Linked DNA regions of Homo sapiens: region 1 is linked to region 2. Evidence: promoter capture Hi-C in 16 types of primary human blood cells and fetal thymus (Javierre and others, 2016). All regions are on one chromosome and are shown on one strand. The core of a region is centred on a gene start or on the middle of the fragment in contact, and the rest is flanking DNA. Distances in the headings are between cores, read along the strand shown.

Region 1 (2,872 bases), core at 127-2,626, 150 kb before region 2:
CTGCTTCTCCACATTGCCAGGAAAAGCTGCTGACGCCTGCCCTCCTCTCTTGAGTCGAGGGCTGAATCTTTCTCCTCTAAGCAGTCTGGTCAGGAACCTTGGTTTCTTGAGAGGCCCCCAAGATGCCGCAGCTCCAGGGCTCTTCCTCCTCACCAGAAATCCCTGGGCTTCCACAATGTGAACTCACTCATTGTCAGGTGTCCGTGGAGTGTTTTTGGCATGGTGACCTGTCTGGGCCCAGCATGTTGCAGATGTGTATTTATGCGCAATGGTATGCATATCTCTGTGTGACTGTCAGTGTTGCAAGCTGGCTGGATCCAACCATCTCTTCTGAAATAATGCATCCAAAGGGTTGATATTCTGGGGGAGGTCACTGCAGAAGGATGGAACTGACCTTTATTCCCCAGTGGGCAGTTACTGAGCTTTCCTCCTCAGAGCCATGCTGGCAGCCCTGGGACAGAGAACGGTGTGGCTTTGGCTGCCTCTGCATGGAATCTTGCCCCGGACTCCTGAAGACTGCACAAGGAATGAGGAAGATCAGGGACAACCTGGGAACTGAATAACTTTCAAAGCCAGTGCTCAGCTTCTCTGCTCCGTACTAGCGTTTACAGGTCTTAATTCAAACCAGATGCCTGTACTAGTTTTTAGACCCCAAGTCAACCTTTCTGAGCCACAGCTTCCCGCTGGGAATAATGATGCCTGCCCTATCTACCTCACAGACTTGTTATGAGGATAAAGTGAGATTAAACTGCCTCAAAGTGCTTTGTAAACCTCAGGTGAATAGGAAAGGGGAAAGTAAGGCTGGAGTGATGATGGGGAGGTCGGAGGATAAGGGGGGGCTGGGATTGCTAATGGGGACTAAAATGGCCAGTCTCCTGGCAAGATTTTGAGCAGGTCATTTCATTGAGGCCTCTTAGATTTCATATTTGAGAATTAGGGCACTGATTCCTGACTGGCTAGGCATGGTGGTCACTGGCTTGAGTCAGACCAGGAATGTCTCTTAGAAATGGTCACTGATAGGCATCCTTCTCCTCCAGTCAGGAGGGGCTGGTTTCCTTATCTGTTGCAGTCTCGACTGCCAGAGGGAGGCGAGCGTGGTAGGCAGTCGGGGGTCCCTTGTGTTTGGGGGGCCCAGCTCCCGCTTCCTTTGAGCCCGGAACCAATGATCCGAAGCCTTCTTTCCTGATGGGATTCTTTAGCGAGGACACTACCGAGGCGCGACTTCCTGACGCGCATCCGATCCGGGAAGGCGCACTTCCGCTCCCCAGTTGCCGCGGGATGGCAAGCCGGCGTGGGGGAAGGGAGAGGTCGGCGGAGACGAGGGAGGGACCATATCCGGGAGAGCGGCAGCTTCCGACCAGTGGTCGCGCTTCCGGAGAGGCGCTTCCGGTGGCGGCGGCAGCAGCGGCTGTGGTGGTTCCGGGTGTCTTTGTCCCCCCGGTGTCGCTGCCCTGGCCCGCAGGTGGGTTGGGGGGCCCCCTGCCGCCCCTCTGCCCCTTCGCCCCTCCGCCCCTCCGCTGGCCGAGGGGCTGCGAGGGCCGGGCGGCGAAGATGCGTGGGGCGCGGAAGGGGCCGAGCCCCTCTTTGGACTGCAAGTCCCGTCTCCCTGGCAACGGCCTCGGCCTTGGGGGCGGGCGGGAGGAGGAGAAACCGCGCGCCTCAGTCCTCCCTTGGTGGCCTCGCCGCGGCTCTGCTGGGAGACCCGGCGCTGGCGGCTGCTGAGGCCGGAGCGGAGGGCCCGGGAGCGTGGGAGCAGGAGGGTGGCGCGCAGCCGGTTTCGCGTTTGGTCGGCCAGGGAGCTGCCTTCCCACCAGCCGGTCGAGGAAACAACGGGTCGGGCTTCCGGGGAGAGGGCCCACACAGTCTCCTCGCCGGCACCGGCCTCCTCCATTTTTCCGGGCCTTGCGTGGAGGGTTTTGGCGGATGTTTTTGAACGAAGGAATGTCATCGGGGCTCTCTCGAGCCCCTCACCCCGCCAGCTACTCTGGGGGTGGCGTGGCATAGTGAGAGGAGCGCTAAGTTGTTGGGAGGCCTGGGTGTGAGTAGCAGTTTTGTCACTACCTGGTTATGTGGCCCCGGGCAAGTCTCTTGATCTCTCTGAGCATCAGTTTCCTTGTCTGTAAAACAGCATGACAGTATCATGCACCACTAGGTTATTGTCAGGGCAAACTGGAACAATGTAATTTCTTGTTTCATTTCTTTCTTCTCTATATTCTCTCCATCCATTGCTTTCATTCATTCTTATTACCCACCTCCCTGTTTTCCGAAATATCCTTACTTAAGATTCTCCACTTTTCCGGGTATAGATGGAAATTTCCCTTATAAGCTGTTAATTTCTTTCTTTTTGGATTGAAGCCTTTTCCCCACGACTCTGAAAGAGGACAGCGTTCCCAATGTCCCAGTTTAAGCGCCAGCGGATCAACCCGCTTCCAGGGGGACGCAACTTCTCAGGTGATCACTGTTCTCCCTACCTGGCCTCATCCTGGGAAGTATGTGCTCTGGAGTTAGTTTGGGGTTTCCCTGGTGGAGAGCAATTTGCTGCTGATGTTCCTCTGGAAAGCAGGAGATGCCCACAGTGATTGCCAGTGAAGCTCTGTGGAGGAGCTGGCTGGAGCTGTAGCCTTTGGATTTACCACATCCTTTGGTTGACTCGTGCTTAAGGTGGTAGGGGCGGTTCCTGGAGATTGCTTCTCTTTCCCCATAGGCACAGCTTCAACATCTCTTCTGGGCCCTCCTCCTGGTTTGCTCACTCCTCCTGTGGCCACAGAACTGTCCCAGAATGCCAGGCACCTTCAGGTAGGTTCGGCATCCCTTGTAGTAAGTTTCAGCCCTTGGGACTGAATGCATGGAGGCCTGGTGCTCTTTTTCTCTT
Region 2 (2,700 bases), core at 88-2,587:
CTTGACAAAATAATGAAATCAGATCAGTGATATTGGCGTGTTTCATGTGGACACATGATGCTGGGAGAACTTCAGAGCTAGGCAGCTCCCACAACTGCCAAGAGACTGAAGCTGAACTTCAAGGCAGAGTCCTCCAGAGTGGCTTAGGCAAAGTCTCCACCTTGCTGAAGCCCTTCCTGGTCCACCACTCCTTGTGGAGGAGAGGGGAAGGTGGGAGCCAGGGTCTGGGGCTTTGCCGGGCTGGTGGCCGCCTCAACATTGGCTTTGGGATGAATCTCAGGACCAGACTTCCCCGCCCTTGTGTGGGAGGTGTGAGGGGCTGGAGCTGGGAGGCAGGAAGTGAGCGCAGATGGGCTACCGCCTGGACAGCTGTGCGGGGAACAGAGCACATCTGTCTGGGTGTGAGTGGGGCCCCTCCCCACAACCTCTGCTGATTCTACATGTTTGATAGGGTGTGGGCTGAGGGTGTGGGCTGAGGGTCCCAAATGGGGAAGAAGATGGGAAAGTCTGACTATAGAGCAGGAACGAGGGTTGCTGATGGGGTATGTTCAGATGGAGGGAGAGGAGGGTTGAAGAGAAAGTGGAAAATGGAAGCAAACAGATCAAATTTTATCTTTCTCAGGATGGGCTCTGGGCTTTCAGCGGCTCTCCAAGCCCCAGGGTCTGATGTCTGTTCCTCTGGGAAGCTGCCCTAGACCCCTGGCCGCCCCACCCACAGGGTGCTCCCTCCTGGTGCTTCCAGTATCTTACATCGTAGTTGTGAAAGTCCCTGGGATAACTGCTCATTTTTCTACCTTACCTACTGGACTGCGGGTGTATTAAGATCAGAGACCTTGTCTCTGTGACTGAATCCTCACTCTGTAGACGTGTGTTGAGTGAATGAATGATTTTATGACCTTAACCAACACAAATTTTTCTATTTAATTCCTTAATTTTTCTCTAATTGGCTTTAAAAATTGCTAGGAAAGCTTATCCCAAGTAGATGCCTGGGAGATCTTTGGGAGTTAGAAGCTGGAGTAGATTTCTCATCAGAAATTTGCCAGCAGGCCTGGAAGTGAGAGAGCCTTTTGCTCTTTTCAGGGAGCAAAGCAGAGAGGAAAGGCTCATTCTAGAAACTGCACACCCTGACTTGGCTTCATGGCCATTTGTGTGGCCTCCTTGGGGCGGTTGGTCTCCCTCCACATGAAGCTGTCATCTGCCTGATATTGAGCCAGCTAGGCAGGGAGTATGGATCACACAGACCTCTGCAGGCTCAGGAGGTGGATAATTTCCCCACATCTCTCCCCTCCCTCACCTCTCTCTGGTTTTCACAGTGCAATGAAAGGATGTGGGAGTTTGAGACCCATCTCTGCTGTGTGGCCCTGGGTGAGTCAGTTCTCCTCTTTGGGCCTCAGTGTTCTCATCTATAGAATGGGAGGGCTGGACTGAGACTCCTTCCGGCTCTTAACTACTGTGAATCTGGTAGGCTAATGAGGAGGGAATATGGCCCTTGGTGGTTATTACTGTCTCCTGAGAGCCTGGGCTGGGGCTTTCCCTTAACTTAGGTGTGGGAAAGTGGGGAAGGGCCCAAGAGGCCATTATTCCACTCCCGGGTTTCGAAACCACTCCTGAGTTCACCTGCTGCTATAACGGTGACTCTTCTTGGATGATTTAGTTGAGTCTTGCCTGGAGTCCAAAGATCTGCTTGAGTGATTCTTAAATGTTTCTCAAGCTTCTGCTCCTGGCTTTCTATTATCTAGCGGAGTGTAACAGAAATGCCAATAGGCAGGAAGGAAGAGCTGAAGTTCCCAGGGCTTTGGGCCAAAATCGTATACTCATTTCTCTCCCTCTTTTTTTTTTTTTTTTTTTTTTTTTTTGAGACGGAGTCATGCTCTGTCACCCAGGCTGCCGCGCAGTGGCGTGATCTCGGCTCATTGCAACCTCTGCTTTCCGGGTTCAAGCGTTTCTCCTGCCTCAGCCTCCTGAGTAGCTGGGATTACAGGTGCCCGCCACCACACTCAGCTAATTTTTGTATTTTTAGTAGAGATGGGGTTCTACCATGTTGGCCAGTCTGGTCTCAAGCTCCTGACCTCAAGTAATCCATCCACCTTGGCCTCCCAAAGTGGTGGGATTACAGGCGTGAGCCACCGTGCTGGGGCAAAATTGTATACTCTTTTCTAACATCATTTTTGTCATCATCATCACCATCCATTACTGATAATGTTAGACATTTATTGTTCTTTTTTTTCAGCCATGTGCAGTGGGTAAGTACATCAGCAAGCAAACTGGCCTCAAGAATCCCGCCCTATCCTGGGCATCTGGGGTTGAGGCTGGCTGTGCCAACCTTTGCACAGGGTTTCAATCTGACCTCACTCAGAAAACGGAGCCACTTGCTTAGAGTCCCTCTCTCTGAACACGCTCTCCCCTCTGGAGGAAAAGCATTGCAATCCCAAGCTCCTGCTGCTGCCGTACATCTGCATCTTATTCATCTTTGAAGCTCCTGCAATGCCTCCAACGGGGACACAACTAAAGGTGCTCGCTAAATACTTATTGATAATAATCATTATAATGATGTATCATAATAGATTCAGCGGGGAAGTTGGCTACTGAGCTGCCCTGAGCTGAGACCCATATTTAACTCCTTGTCTGAGCATCTTCTGTGCTCAGGCCAGAGCGACAGCCTTGCGAGGCTAGCGTGGGATGGTCTGGAGACAAGGTGGC

The links. Contacts are between HindIII fragments. The CHiCAGO score rates a contact against its expected background, and 5 or more counts as called.
Region 1: a contact is called between the fragment with the promoter of CCAR2 here and a fragment that was not itself captured in region 2, in 13 of 17 cell types (naive CD4 T cells, non-activated CD4 T cells, naive CD8 T cells and 10 more). The highest score is 10.8, in naive CD4 T cells.

Annotation. Positions count from the first base shown.
Region 1 is chr8:22,603,381-22,606,252 of GRCh38, forward strand. It overlaps CCAR2 (cell cycle and apoptosis regulator 2), which reads left to right and starts at 1,377. Exons shown (of 21, transcript NM_001393997.1): 1 at 1,377-1,462; 2 at 2,356-2,451; 3 at 2,705-2,796. The coding sequence starts at 2,394. It overlaps C8orf58 (chromosome 8 open reading frame 58), which reads left to right. Exons shown (of 7, transcript NM_001013842.3): 7 at 1-762. LOC107986876 (a long non-coding RNA gene) reads right to left here and starts at 1,620. Exons shown (of 1, transcript NR_160769.1): 1 at 1-1,620. RefSeq lists enhancers at 1,095-1,204, 1,211-1,711 and silencers at 1,375-1,674, 1,735-1,794. The HindIII fragment of the contact is 4,257 bases long and covers 1-2,872 here.
Region 2 is chr8:22,753,498-22,756,197 of GRCh38, forward strand. All of the region lies in intron 4 of PEBP4 (phosphatidylethanolamine binding protein 4), which reads right to left. It overlaps LOC107986925 (a long non-coding RNA gene), which reads left to right. Exons shown (of 3, transcript XR_007060852.1): 1 at 1-1,365; 2 at 2,231-2,511. Among named protein-coding and RNA genes, the nearest start is that of EGR3, 61 kb to the left of the region's middle. RefSeq lists an enhancer at 1,566-1,675. The HindIII fragment of the contact is 743 bases long and covers 967-1,709 here.